Linked DNA regions of Homo sapiens: region 2 is linked to region 1. Evidence: promoter capture Hi-C in 16 types of primary human blood cells and fetal thymus (Javierre and others, 2016). All regions are on one chromosome and are shown on one strand. Each heading gives the region's core, a stretch centred on a gene start or on the middle of the fragment in contact. The rest is flanking DNA. Distances are from core to core; before and after follow the strand shown. Region 1 holds the start of TRIM22 (tripartite motif containing 22). Region 2 holds the start of OR51V1 (olfactory receptor family 51 subfamily V member 1).

Evidence for each region. Contacts are between HindIII fragments. The CHiCAGO score rates a contact against its expected background, and 5 or more counts as called.
Region 2: a contact is called between the fragment with the promoter of OR51V1 here and the fragment with the promoter of TRIM22 in region 1, in 2 of 17 cell types (M1 macrophages and M2 macrophages). The highest score is 5.9, in M1 macrophages.

The regions. Positions count from the first base shown.
Region 1 is chr11:5,686,240-5,693,617 of GRCh38, reverse strand. TRIM22 (tripartite motif containing 22) reads right to left here and starts at 3,828. Exons shown (of 8, transcript NM_006074.5): 1 at 3,719-3,828. It overlaps LOC124902620 (a long non-coding RNA gene), which reads left to right and starts at 864. Exons shown (of 2, transcript XR_007062561.1): 1 at 864-2,940; 2 at 3,322-3,391. RefSeq lists enhancers at 3,009-3,108, 2,524-3,723, 3,695-4,034, 3,156-4,148. The HindIII fragment of the contact is 4,665 bases long and covers 2,823-7,378 here.
Region 2 is chr11:5,196,555-5,203,932 of GRCh38, reverse strand. It overlaps OR51V1 (olfactory receptor family 51 subfamily V member 1), which reads left to right and starts at 3,251. Exons shown (of 1, transcript NM_001004760.3): 1 at 3,251-4,198. The coding sequence starts at 3,251. The coding sequence ends at 4,198. The HindIII fragment of the contact is 3,813 bases long and covers 2,376-6,188 here.

The sequences.
Region 1 (7,378 bases), core at 2,579-5,078:
CCAAGTAGCTGGGACTACAGGCGCCCGCCACCACACCCGGGTGATTTTTTGGTGTCTTTTTAGTAGAGACGGGGTTTCACTGTGTTAGCCAGGATGGTCTCGATCTCCGGACCTCATGATCTGCCCGCCTCGGCCTCCCAAAGTGCTGGGATTACTGGCGTGAGCCACCGCGCCCGGCCTATTCATTCTTTATTCTAACATTGAAGAAATGTAGCCCCATTGAAACCCTTCCGACCTAAGACAGGTAGACAGACAGACACATAAACAAAATGCATGCTCCCCTTTGAAGGTGGTGCGAATGTAGAAGTTTCTATGACACGGTGAAGGCTAACTAGGTCCGTAGCTTCCTTGTTTCAGAATACTCTGATTACCTGCACAGAAGCTTTCTTTATCTGTGCAATTTAAATCAAAAAAAAAAAAAAAAAAAAGATGGCCAGGCGCTGTGGCTCAAGCCTGTAATCCCAGCAGTTTGGGGGGCCGAGGCGGGCAGATTACCTGAGGTCAGGAGTTTGAGGCCAGCCTGGCCACTATGGTGAGACCCCGTATCTACTAAAAAATATATATATATACAAACATTAGCCAGGTGTGACAGCAGTTGCTTGTAGTCCCCGCTACTCTGGAGGCTGAGGCAGGAGAATCACTTGAACCCAGGAGGCGGAGGTTGCAGTGAGCTGAGATCACACCACTGCACTCCAGCCTGGCAACAGAGCAAGACTCCGTCAAAAGAAAAAAAAAAAAAAAGATTAAATTAAATTAGTGTGGCTACACAATAAGGAGAAAAATTATAAGGGGTTTAGCCATCAATATCTTTTTTTTTTTTTTTTGAGACAAGGTCTCACTGCGTTGCCCAGGCTGGTCTCAAACTCCTCAACTCAAGCAGTCCTCCAGTCTTGGCTTCCCAAAGTGCTGGGATTTTTGGCTAGGCTTTGGCACAAGCCACCAGGTGCCTGGCCTAGCCAACATCTTTTAAATTTCCCCTGTTCCTTGGGTCAGGAACTACCAATGGAGAAAATAGGTCCTGTTCTTGGCATGCAGAAACCTGGAGAACTCAGAAACACCGTTACCACTTCTTATTTGTCTAAACTCAGAGTTCCTTTTTCAATGACCCACTAAAATGTCCAGGGTTTAGTTTTCCCCAAGTAATGACCCTTTTTCCAAGAGTTCTAACTCTCTGGTCAATATGTTTCAGATAAGTCATTTTGTAACAGAGGACAGATTTCATAAAGCTACCCCAGTGTCATCTCTTTCTCTCACAGTTAGTTCATCAGTTCTTAAATCCATCATTTTATTGAAGACTGCTCAAAATCATTGTCTCACAGTGAGACCTAATGTGAAATCTATTTAAAGTTGCAAAGCCCTTGACAAGAGCACTACAGATACCACATCCTATTGCAGCCCTTTTAGTTTGTTGCTTTTGTTTTATTGGTTTTACATTTATCCTCTAGTAACTGCTACCTTTTTGCTACATTAAAACTGCTGGTTTACTTCCTTTTTTTGACTGCGTGTTTACTTCCTTTTCCCTAGTCCAGAGCATAATCTCTTACCGGTATTTAATGTTGATTATATATCGAATAGATAGTTTTTTTGTTTTTGTTTTTGTTTTTTTACTATACCTGTATGCTTTTGTTTTGTGAATTTAGTCAAAAATATTTTTCAAAAATTAAAAGTACAGTTTTATTTATTGGGTCCTGTACTAGACTTGACAATGAATAAATACTAGATATGGACCTTGACAAGATGTGCGGTACAGACACATAAGGAGACAGTTACCTGGACCTCTGAAAAGTGAAACAAAGAAAAGGACACATCAGAATATGGGTGACATAGGCATCAAGGTACAAAATGCTCAGCGATAAGATCGAGATAAGACTCAGGAGAAATTACCAACTCCTTGCCTTAGCTCTGTGCAAGGGAAAATTGAGTAGGGAGTTGAGGTAACTCATGATGAAAAGGTGTACCTAGAATAATAGCAACTTCTAAAACAGGAGTGGATACCAGAGGTTCATTGGGTGCTACAGAAGTTGAGGGAGGAGACCACCTCTCATATTGTCTTATGCCCAATTTCTGCCTCCAAAGAAAGAAAAAGTAAAAACTAAAAGGCAGAAATGAAATCCACAAGCAGACAGCCCGGGGCCACACCCTGGACCTGGTAGTTAAAGATGGACCCCTGACCTAATTGGTTTGTTATCTATAGATTCCAGACATTGTATAGAAAAGCACTGTGAAAATCCCTACTCTGTTTTGTTCCGATCTAATTACCGGTGTATGCAGCCCCCAGTCACGTACCCCCTGCTTGCTCAATCGATCACGACCCTCTCACGCGGACCCCCTTAGAGTTGTGAGCCCTTAAAAGGGACAGGAATTGCTCACTCGAGGAGCTCGGCTCTTGAGACAGGAGTCTTGCCTATGCCCCTGGCCGAATAAACCCCTTCCTTCTTTACCTCGGTGTCTGAGGAGTTTTTTCTGTGGCTGGTCCTGCTACAAAGGAAGAGTAAGCTGTGGGTACTCAGAAGAACAAGTTCCCTGTGACTGGACCTTCAGAGACAAGAGACCAAAGTGGAGCTGCAGAGATGAGCAGCAGTCTGCCCGTCCTGCGGCCTCTCTCCTCGGACTAACCAGAGGGCTGCTAATTTATCAGGAAAGCTATGGACAGCATCCAAAAAGTTACCAGAAGGCAAGTAAAAGGATAACCTTCAAAAGGGCCTTACTTCTGAAGACTGAGTACCTAAGACTCCTTCGCCTCATACCCAGATCCAGATAAGGGCTCTCATCCCTGCTGAACCTCATCATGAGGTTGCTTTATGAAAAGTGAAAACAAAGCTTCATTGCACAGGCTTCTTCGGGAGAAAGGAGGAAGGAATTTGCTGCCTCTGAATAAAAGAAAATTCTGATCCACGTTGGCAAAATGGAAAAATCAAAATGACAGAATAGGAATGTGGGGTATGATAAGGTTTCTCTTCAAATAGCCTGATCAATCCTTTATTCTTTAATTCACAGTGCCCCTCCCCACTTCACTTTTCTTCTCTTCTCTTTCCTTTCTGCTTTTGCTACATGCCTAGACATGTCACAGTACCAGGCGTTATCAGTACCAACTCACATTCCTTTCCTTATTTTGGAAGAAGATTAGTTATCTAGCTCATCACACACACCCCTTCCCCATCTCCCCTCTCTCCCTCACGTGCCCACCTTATCTAAAGAAAGTTAAAATGTTTAGCCAACTGAGTCTAGTTTAGATTGTGTGGCCGACTCCAGCCAATGGGGAAAGGGCAAAGGGGTAGGATTTGCGTCAGGAATAAAAACTTTCTTCCTCCTTTGTTCTAGTGTGCTCTCATGGCGACTGGCAAAGAAGAAGCACCCCTCTGCACAGAAATAAAATTGCTTTGCTGAGAAATCCTTTGTTTGAGTGCTCGTCTCCCTTAAGATTCTGAGCTTTATTTCCAACAAGGAAGGTGATGGAGGTACCTAGATTGAAGAAATGAATGGTCCCTCTAGGAAACAAGCAAGGCTTTTTGCTTTTGCAAACCTCTCTTCTTTAAAGGTTACCCCTCTCCCAGACTCAGTGCTTTCTTCCTCTGCCATCTCAGCAGACAGTTCACAAGCTGCCTCTTTTTGTTTATGCAGAGCAGCTTCAGAACTACAAATTAAACTCACCCAGACACAATCAATCTATTCTTCTCAAAGCCTCCCATTCTATGCTCCCACAGATTGCTCCACTCACCTTCAGTCCAAAGCAGAGGAGTCTTGAATCAGGGGAGAAGAGTGAAGGCAGGGCAGGAGCCGGTGTAAACCAGATTCACTCACCAAGCCAGAGGGCTGGTCTCCACAAATGAGTTTCCCCACAGGAGCTGAGTGAGAAACGAAAGTTAAATTCTCAGAAGTGAAAGAAAACAAAGGAAGCTGAACAAGAACTTACATAACAATAAACCCTGGGGAAAGTAATGCTACATTATGTTCTAGCATCTGCTGTACTGGCAAGGCACTCAGTCACTACTTCCTTATTCTTACTGTGGTTTACTCAAGCAAGAATATTTGAATAAAAAGAATGTGAATTACAGTTATACAGCTTGCCTGAATACTTAGAATTCCAATGCAGTCCTATAATTATTAGTCGAATTTATCTTATATTTAAGACCTAAGCCAGGAAAATAAAGATCCAGAGACTTGGGACCTAGCTTCTTGAAATGCAGTCTGACGAGGAAGATACTCAGTTATAAAGCTCTACAAATTTGGGCTGACAAGATGAGTATTAGCAGCTGACATTGTGAATGGTAAAAAAATTATTTTTATAAATAAAAGGATCTTTAGTGTGAGCCCATTGAAAAAAATGTTCTCAAAATGTCATTAAATCTTAAGAGTCCATCAATTAATTATCACTTCCTGCTCCTAATCCAGACAGACCAGATGAGGATGGATTCCAGAGAGTAATAGAGGTAAAACTGTGTCAGTGTCATGTTACCCAGCCACTGAGGCAGGTGAGAACATGGAAGTTAACAGATGATGCTGTTTAATTATAATCATTCATTGAGTTACTCTCATGCCTTCATAATTTTTCCACTTTTCCCTGCTTCTCTAAGAAAAGTTTGGTCATTTTTACACAATCAATTAAAAAGCAGCACTGAAACATGTTATACGTCATGCACATACTTCTGTACCCTGTTGTCTATTGTATTCTTGTTTAACTGCATGTGCCAGATAATGCCATCAAAAACTGATGGAGGCCTGTGGTGTCTCATGCCTGTAATCCCAGCACTCTGGGAGGCCCAGGTGGGTGGATCACTTGAGTCCAGGACTTCAACACCAGCCTGGGCAACATGGTGAAATCCCATCTCTAAGAAAAATTAAAAAAAAAAAAATAGCTGGGTGTGGTGATGTGCACCTGTAGTCCCAGCTACTCAGGAAACTGAGATGGGAGGATGGCTTGAGCCCAGGAGGTGGAGGTTGCATTGAGCCAAGATTGCGTCATTGCACCATAGCACTGCAGCCTGGGTGACATAGTAAGACCCTGTCTCTACAAAAAACAAACAAACAAACACCACACAACACATACACACACACACCCAAAAAAAAAGAAAAAAAAAGGCAACTCATGGAGCTTCCATAACATGGATCCCTGACTGACACTATGGAGCATGGCCATCTTCATACTTTAATCAATGATACACATGTAGGATGACTGAGAAATCAATGTTTATTATTTCAATAATAGATATTTTGGTATTATTTGTTGCTCACAGAATAATAAGCTAATCCTGGCTATAAATTCTTTCCTACTCACTTATATCTATGAGGACCTTATTCAATCAGCTGAAAGCCAGAATAGAAGAAAAAACTGACTTCTCCCCGAGAAGAGGGAATATTACCAGCAGGCAAACCTCAGGCGTGAGCTATAACGTTGACTCCTTCTTGGATCCAGAGCCTCTTGGCCTACCTTGCAGACTTTGGATTTGCCAGTCTCCAGAATCACCTGAGACATTTCTCAAGTTTCTTTCCAAATAAATTCATAGTTTAGTGGTTCTATTGCTATGATGAACCTTGACTAAGACAGGCGTGAAATTTTCTTATTTCTTCTTGAAGATAAATAAGCAAGAGATGTAATTTTAGGTATATTCCATGTTTGAATAGAATATCTTGTTGACATTTGTAGGGGAGTGAGCGCTCAGTGAGTGAATGTGTTTTTTCTGGAGTGCACAGAGTGGAGTCCGAGTGTCAACCACAATGGACAAAGTGAATGAACTCATTTATCCAGAGACCTGTTCTCTGTCCATTATTTCTTCCCTTCTCAGCACTTCCATAGATCTCATAGCCATCCTTTTATTCTCGTCTGGCTTTGAACATCTGAAGTGAACTTTCATCCTGGTCTGATTTATCTCATGAAGTATTAATTGCAGCTGAGAGAAAACAGTAGTAATATTAGGTCCTGACAAGATACCAGAAAACGTGGGCCAATAGAAAAACTGAATGCACCACACACAGTTTATCACCAGAGTAGAGCATGTTGGCAGGCTCCATATTCTAACCTATGTTCTAAATTGTAGAAAAAATATATTATTGTTGGAGCTCTGTGTTTTCTCTGTAAACCCTTTTTTTTTTTTTTTTTTTTGAGACGGAGTCTCGCTCTGTCGCCCAGGCCGGACTGCGGACTGCAGTGGTGCGATCTCGGCTCACTGCAAGCTCCGCTTCCCGGGTTCACGCCATTCTCCTGCCTCAGCCTCCCGAGTAGCTGGGACTACAGGCGCCCGCCACCGCGCCTGGCTAATTTTTTGTATTTTTAGTAGAGACGGGGTTTCACCTTGTTAGCCAGGATGGTCTCAATCTCCTGACCTCATGATCCACCCACCTTGGCCTCCCAAAGTGCTGGGATTACAGGCGTGAGCCACCGCGCCCAGCCTGTAAACCTTATATATCCTGCTTTCCTGCTTGAAAAGGAATCAAATGAAATATCTCTACCTTTGGGTCCATGGATATTTAACATTTTTCTCTTCAAGAAAAAGAGCAAAATAAGAGTAAATATGGTTAGAGTCTGAATAATACTTAGGAAGAAAACAGAGAGGATATTTTAAAAAATCGTTTAAAATTTGTTTAAAAATTTACATAATTACTTTTTTTTTTTTTTTTTTTTTTTTTTTTTTTTTTTTTTTTTGAGACAGAGTCTCACTCTATTGCCCAGGCTGGAGTGCAGTGGCATGATCTCGGCTCACTTCAACCTCCACCTCCCGGGTTCACGCAATTCTCCTTCCTCACCCTCCTGAGTAGCTGGGATTACAGGCATCTGCCATTACACCTGGCTAATTTTTGTATTTTTCGTAGAGATGAGGTTTCACCATGTTGGTCAGGCTGGTCTCAAATTCCTGACCTCAAGTGATCCACCCGCCTTGGTCTCCCGAAGTGCGAGGATTACAGGTGTGAGCCACTGCAAATGTAATCATTACATAATTATTACTAATGCCACATAATTATTACTAAATAACAATTAGTAATATTAATTATAATTGTAACTATTAATAATTGTAATTATTAATAATACTAATTATTATAATTATTACTATAATTATTACTGCCACATAATTATTACTAATGCCAGAAGAATATTTGAATTAAACTAGGTGACACAGCAGTTATCTTTACAGCAAGAATAGAACAGAAATGTGACATCAAGATATTCAATTAAAATTAGATTAATAGCTATATATCTTCATATCTATTTAAATATTACTCCTTATATACACCATATTCTAGTAAATCTGAGACAATAAAGAACAAAATGCAAAAGCCCCCTACCTGATTTCATGAAACAGAAAGCTGCGGGGGTACAGTGTGGAGGGGGTATGAGGTTACTGATGATGGAATTAAGTGATAACAGGCTGCCCACTGCAGTGCT
Region 2 (7,378 bases), core at 2,002-4,501, 490 kb after region 1:
TCCTGCCTCAGTCTCCCAAGTAACTGGGATTACAGGAGCACACTGCCATGCCCAGCTAATTATTTTTGTGTTTTAGTAGAGACAGGGTTTCACCATTTTGCCCAGGTTGGTCTCCAACTCCTGAGCTCAGCCAATCCACCTGCCTCGGCCTCCCAAAGTGCTAGGATTACAGGCGTGAGCCACCAAGCCTGGCTGAAAGTAGATACTTTTAACACATACCTACATTCACAGAATATTAAATCTTTTGTGATCAATCCCAGATCCTTGACGATATGTCTGAGTCAGGCTGGAAATGAGAGAAATCATGTTTGAAATTGGAGTGTTGTATTCAAGGTCAGCAAGATCCCTGGAGCAGCATCTGTTTTATAAACCATTCAAACTTGGTATATGATGACTCAATTGGTGGCCAAAGGTCAGAAAAGACTAAGTGTACACAGATGATTTTACACACACTTTGATAGGAGTGTTCACATTCATATTATCTTTATATCTCTGTGATTGTCTAGCTCTTATTTCATAGAATAATTAATTAAAAATTATTTGATAAGTGCCCATTCTATGCTAACCCTTATTTTTCATATTCTTGAGCAAAAAACAGATATGGTTCCTAATCTTCTACAGCCTCTAATGAATCTAATGGAAATTCAGTGTATAATAAGTGGTATAAATATAAACTAGTATACTGTGATGAGAGTAAGTTAGTTAAGGGGGTTGAAGAAATGAGATAATCTAGGTGGGGAGCAGTATTAGAAAAATCCCCCTGAGGAAGTAATCATTTTAACTCAAAAGTTAATGGTGAAAGGAATTGCTGTGCAAATACTTGGGGTAGATAATTCGGAGCACAGAGAAGACCATGGGCAAAGATCCTGAGACATGCATGTACTTAGCTTGTTTTGAGGAAGATAAAGATACCTAAATATTAAGGAGTGTAGGCAGTAGTGGTCTAAAGATGTAATAGAAGAGGCAGGTGAGCCACGTTATACAAGGCTTTTTGACTATGATAAAGAATTTGTATTTTACATTACGAGCAATGGGTAAGTGACCATCAAAGAGTTTTTTCAACAAAGGTTTGTGTGATTTAGTAGATGTTTGTAGAAAAGCAATTTGGTTTCCCTGGAGATAATACATTTTTTAGAGGACAAACAGATAAATCATGATATTAGCTAGTAATAATATTAAATTATTATTAATTTAATAAATTATCATAGTAGCCAGGGAAACAATGATATTATAAACCAAGACGGGCAATGTGTAAAAGTGGGCCTATCTGGGATGTGTTTCTGGTAGAAATGGTAGAAATTGATGAAAGATTTGATGGAGAGAGGAAAGGGAAGGAAAGAGAGAAATAAAAAATTTTAAAAATGACTCAAGACTTGTCTTATGCAATTGTGTTATTGGTGGAGTCACTTTATAATATTAGGAGAAAAGGGACAGAAAATAGATTTTGGGGGGAAAATCAAGTACTTTATTGGCATCATTCTTATTTTAAGATTAAACACTCAGATGAATATATTAAATAGCCAGTTGTATTCATGAATTTGAGCTCTCAGGAGTGGTCAGGAATCAGAGGTGCAAATGTTAGTTTCAAATAATAAGAAAAAGTTGACATAGTCTGCACATTAAGGAACTGAGAATTTAGTTTGTAACAGAGATATTAGTTAAATATTTAGTTTAAATATTAGTTAAATATTTAGCTAATAAATACAAAATTATAAGTTTTATTTAAAATTGAAACATGATACCAAAATAATAGATATATGGATAAATTTGTCTTAAGAAACTTCTTGAAAAGTGATTGTTGAGTTGCAAGATCGTTTTAAAAAGGGTAGGAAGAAATTGAGGAAAAGATGATGAATAATTTAGGCAGATAGAACATTTCGAGAAAAATTTTACGAAAGAAGAGAAATTCGATTTAGAGAAATGAAAGAAGATACGTATTCAAAAGACTGAAAAATCCTCTGCAAGAAACGAAGAAACTTCAAGCATTCTATGGAGAAAAAAGTATTAAAAATAGTGAGCTAAGTTATTCAATGCTGAGAAGGAGTCAGGGCAAGAAAAACAATGGTTAGACTGCTAGAAGACGTCAGTGTAGTATAGAGAGTACATTGAGAAGAAAGTCTGTGGAACTGTGTTGTGAGGCTAATAAGACAAAGCTGAAAAGTAGGACATAAAGGGCAGCCCAAATCTGAAGTTACTTTAACATCTCGAAGTTACTCAATCAAACATGAAAGTATGGACTTTTGAACATCTGTTTACATTATTAGAGCTTTAAAAAAACTTATGATGATTCTCAGGTCTGGAACTTAAAGCAGGCAAACAATGTAAAGAAGAAGCCAATTGATTCTGCTACCATGAGGCTTTTGAAATTATAAGCTTGCTTGTTTGAGCCTGGCTTTGTGATCTGTAGAACTGCAGGTTCTAAGAAAGAAAACACAATTGGCCAATACATTGAATAAATGTATATTGAATAAATAGTTAATCAGCTCATTAACTGAATAAATAAAGGAATGGGAAGCACTGAGCTGCTATCAAAGGCTCAGTGTCTTCAATCTAATTCTCTACATCACAAAGGCACAAATGAGTTGAACATCTCAAGAGGCCAGAGCTCCAGTGAGAAATCATTTACCCAAGGTCTCATGCATAAATATTCCTGTCTGCTTATCACCAATGAAGAAAAAGTAATTGCTGGCTACGTCATCTGGAGGGGGAGAAAACAGGAGTATCTTCATTAAATAGTATTTGGAGAAAAAATATACTTGGAGACGGCACAAAATGGAAAATGACGGAAAAGTGACTATTTAATAGACTTATGATATTTAAAGCCCAAAGATTACTCTTCACTTCGAATGTTTAATGAATTGGAGAGAAGAAAATAATTTTTCAAGAACCTCGGCTCTTTACTGGTATAAAATTTTTACCACTATCCTTGGGAAAATGTCTAAGCAACGTATTTTTTTAAAACTAGCCTTCTCCTTTTACTAATCTCTTCCTTATTTGTTTTTGCTTATGGCTTCTAAGGATATGTTCACATCCAGACAGTGAAAAAATAATGACTTTTAAATGACATCAAAAGAAGACCATTTTCTCAAAGGCAATGGATACTATGTCTCAAAGAAACAGAATTTCTCAGCTGTTTTTTTTAAGTCAGTAAGTTTTAGGGTATTTCATTTACTTAGAAATTTCATTGTATTCAGGTGAAATTGAAACATTTCCTTTGAAAAAATACTCTCACATGTTTCTCAGTTCCAGAATGATTACTTCAGTAAGCCCTAGCACCAGCACGAATTCTTCCTTTCTTCTCACTGGATTTTCTGGCATGGAGCAGCAATACCCCTGGCTTTCCATCCCCTTCTCCTCAATCTATGCCATGGTGCTTTTGGGCAATTGCATGGTTCTCCATGTGATATGGACTGAGCCAAGCCTGCACCAGCCTATGTTTTACTTCCTGTCCATGCTGGCCCTCACTGACCTGTGCATGGGGCTGTCCACTGTGTACACAGTGCTGGGGATCCTGTGGGGGATCATTCGAGAGATCAGCTTGGATTCCTGCATTGCCCAGTCCTATTTCATCCATGGTCTGTCCTTCATGGAGTCCTCTGTCCTCCTCACTATGGCCTTTGACCGGTACATTGCAATTTGCAATCCACTACGTTATTCCTCCATCCTGACTAATTCCAGAATTATCAAAATTGGGCTCACTATAATAGGTAGGAGTTTTTTCTTTATTACACCCCCCATCATCTGTCTGAAATTTTTTAATTACTGTCATTTCCACATCCTTTCTCACTCTTTCTGCCTGCACCAGGATCTTCTCCGCTTAGCCTGTTCAGACATCCGATTCAATAGTTACTATGCCCTGATGCTGGTTATTTGCATACTGTTGTTGGATGCTATACTCATCCTTTTCTCCTACATCCTGATTCTTAAGTCAGTCCTGGCAGTTGCCTCTCAGGAAGAGAGGCATAAATTATTTCAGACCTGCATCTCCCACATCTGTGCTGTCCTTGTGTTCTACATCCCTATCATTAGCCTCACAATGGTGCACCGTTTTGGCAAGCACCTTTCCCCCGTGGCCCACGTTCTCATTGGCAACATCTACATCCTTTTCCCACCTTTAATGAATCCCATCATCTACAGTGTCAAGACCCAACAGATTCATACCAGAATGCTTAGACTCTTTTCTCTGAAAAGATATTGAGAGATATTGAGATGTATTGCCTAAAAAAAAGAAAGAAAAGCAGCAACAATAATAAACAAAAATCAGTGCCATAAAAAAGAAAAAATTATTAAAATTGTAGATTTACTCTGAGTCCATGACAAATGACCTTAAAAAATATTTAAATATAGTCAGAGAATCAACAAACAAGTTCCATTGTGTCAGCCTGGACACATGTAGGTCACTCTATCAGTCTGACCATATTTAAGAAAGAGGAAAAAATTGTTTATTTGCCTGAAATGTACTTTTGAGCATTTCCTTTGCTGTAAAACAAAGCTGGATTAAAAACCTAGGTTTTCAAGTTTCAAAGTAGAAAACTTGAAGTTTCTTTCATTCTCTGAGGTTTACTTAATTAACCTTCAAAATGGAGACTATAGCCAACTCACAGGAATGTTGTGATATCTGTATGGACCAGAATTGTCCAAGGGAACTTTTCTAAACTGATGGCGATGTTCTATAAAATACCATAAAATGGCTAAAGTGGAATATATGGCTCCTGTGCGCTTGAAATGATGGTAGTGTAATTGAACAACTGCATTTACAATTTCAGTTACTTTAAGTTAATTTATATTTAAATGTTTAATGTCCTTGTATTGGACAGTTCAGTTCAGCAGCCACTATATTGGACAGGGAAGCTACAGTTCATAAAGAGGACACAAAGAAATATGACTTTGGATTCAACTTCTACCATGTCTAATTTAAATTAGAATCCTTATTTTTTAGATTTTATATGTGGACTCCACTGCTACAAGGCTGGAAGCAGATTTTGCTCTAGATCTTTTGCTTTTATATCTAAGTGGGGGATCTTCTGAACAGATGAGACTGTCCGCTACCGACTTATTCTGAGTTTAAAAGAAAAAAGATAAAAGAACATAAAGCGGTTCTTTTCTAAGTAAGCTAGTGCAGCTTTCCAAAGAAGGAAAGAAAGGAAGGAAATCAGGTACAAAACTATGCATGGATAACAAGAAAATAATTGTTTTAATCTTCCTATATTCTATTAGGTATCTAAGAAGGTAAGTGTTAAAATTGGACAAATTAATGCATAAGAGTCATTTTACACCAAAAAGCAAATATTTATTTTTATTTTTAGATATCAACTAAAACAACCAGATTTGTCTTCCTGTAATTATGCCTTCCTTTCCTTTCACTTTGGACTTCATTCAATAACATAGCCTCTGTCTACTTATTTGACTCAGAGGGAAACAAAAATACAGGCTTTGGTTTCTAATAGCTTAAGCCTCAAAGTGAGGAAATTGTTTCTGGACAGAGTAAAGTATCTGGTTAGAAAGATAAGTGTAAAATTATTCCTAGAACAATAAATTAGGTCTTCTGGGTTACAGTATAAGGTTAATTTGAAGGATAAAGGAGTGAATTTCCTGATGTCAAAGAGGATCTAGTGCATCTTCTGGTATAGCTATCAGAAGTGAAAACTGTGAGGTAGGTTCTAGAGGGGAAAATGTCAATATATATATTTTTTACTATATAATCATAGTAGCTGCCGAGGCGGGCGGATCATGAGGTCAGGAGATCGAGACCATCCTGGCCAGCAATGGTGAAACCCCGTCTCTACTAAAAAAACACAAGAAAGTATCCAGGCGTGGTGGCGGGCACCTGTAGTCCCAGGTACTCGGGAGGCTGAGACAGGAGAATGGCGTGAACCCGGGAGGTGGAGCTTGCAGTGAGTCGAGATCACGCCACTGCACTCCAGCCTGGGCGACAGAGAGAGACTCTGTCTCAAAAAAAAAAAAAAAAAGAGAAAAAAAAAGAAAAGTTGATATGAATGTCAGGTGGTAGTACTGCTCCAGGTTCCCTAATGATAATAAATGTCTGCATGGTCCCTCCTGGCCGACTGGAATGTGGCCAATCTGACAAGATTCCTATGCCCCAGTTTTATAATGAAAAGAGAAGTTAGCTGCTGAATCTGTAGAGGTCATGTGAATGTCTCATAGATTTCTCAATGGCCAAAGAAGCTTCCTTCTAATGCTTTGAAAGTGAATAAGCATCCACCCTCCCATACGCCGGAGAGCTGACACAACACTGGGGAAGCAGAGAATTCTTCAACAACTGACAATATGTTTTCCACCAGCCACTCATAGGGAAGCATCAGAATGAATTTATATTTATTATTTGAACAATATTACATGTCTGACACAACTGAGTTGTTGGTTTGAGAGTTATGTTTAACAGGGAGAGTAGGAAGGCTCATCTGAAGACTTCATACTATGAGTGTTTGTGCTTCAGATTAGGCAACCTATAGAATGTGAACCAAAATAGTTTGAAATAATGGCCGTGACAAAACAGTTAATAAAAAATACCTAAGAGTATCCTCAGAAATCATTGCTTATTTTAGAGCTATATAATTGTACTATGATGATAAGATTTATGAAGAACTTCAGAATCTTTACAATTCAGCCAAAGGGAGGAAAATCAGTAAAAAAAAAAAAAAAAAGCCAATGAAAGTAAACTTTATATGATTACTGGGCTTTATACAGAAAGAAACAGGTTTAGAACATTAGTAGTTTAGATTGTTTGTTTTGCAAAGGCCTCTATCTGGAAGCAATTACTTAAAAAAATAACTAAACCTCTCCTGAGGAAGAAAAGGCAATTTCAGAGACATCAGCCCAGGTCCTGAAAGGAAGAGCAGATGGAGACATCACAGGTGTTTAAAACACTGTCTGTTTTGAAAAGCTACATAGTAGCCAGGTGGAGACATTTTTCCATATATCTCAAAAAGCCAGCTTCTAAGGAAACTTGTTTTCCATGAATTAGGCAACAACAGCTGAAACTGTTGTTGATGTGGTAGCCTGCAGAGCCAGTGAGAAGCAGTTATCAGATTCCTTTGTAAGGCCTGCAAGGCTACTATCCAGCGTCACTGAGAAACGTTACGAAAACAGCCACAGTGATGTTAGGGAAACACAGTTCTCTTTTGCCTTTTTTTTTTTAATAGGTAGACTGTCATATCATTGTAACTGCTGCCTTAAATGAAGTCACGGTTATTATAATAAGGAGAAAACAAAAATATTGCCGAGAACAAGGTGACAAAAGTAAGATTCAGAAAATCAGAAAGTCTAGTCCATTCAATTGCTATTCATTTAACTCTTACACCGAAAAGCTAAGGTCCAGTGGGAGAAATCAGTGATTCTTAGAAGTGAGAGGACATGA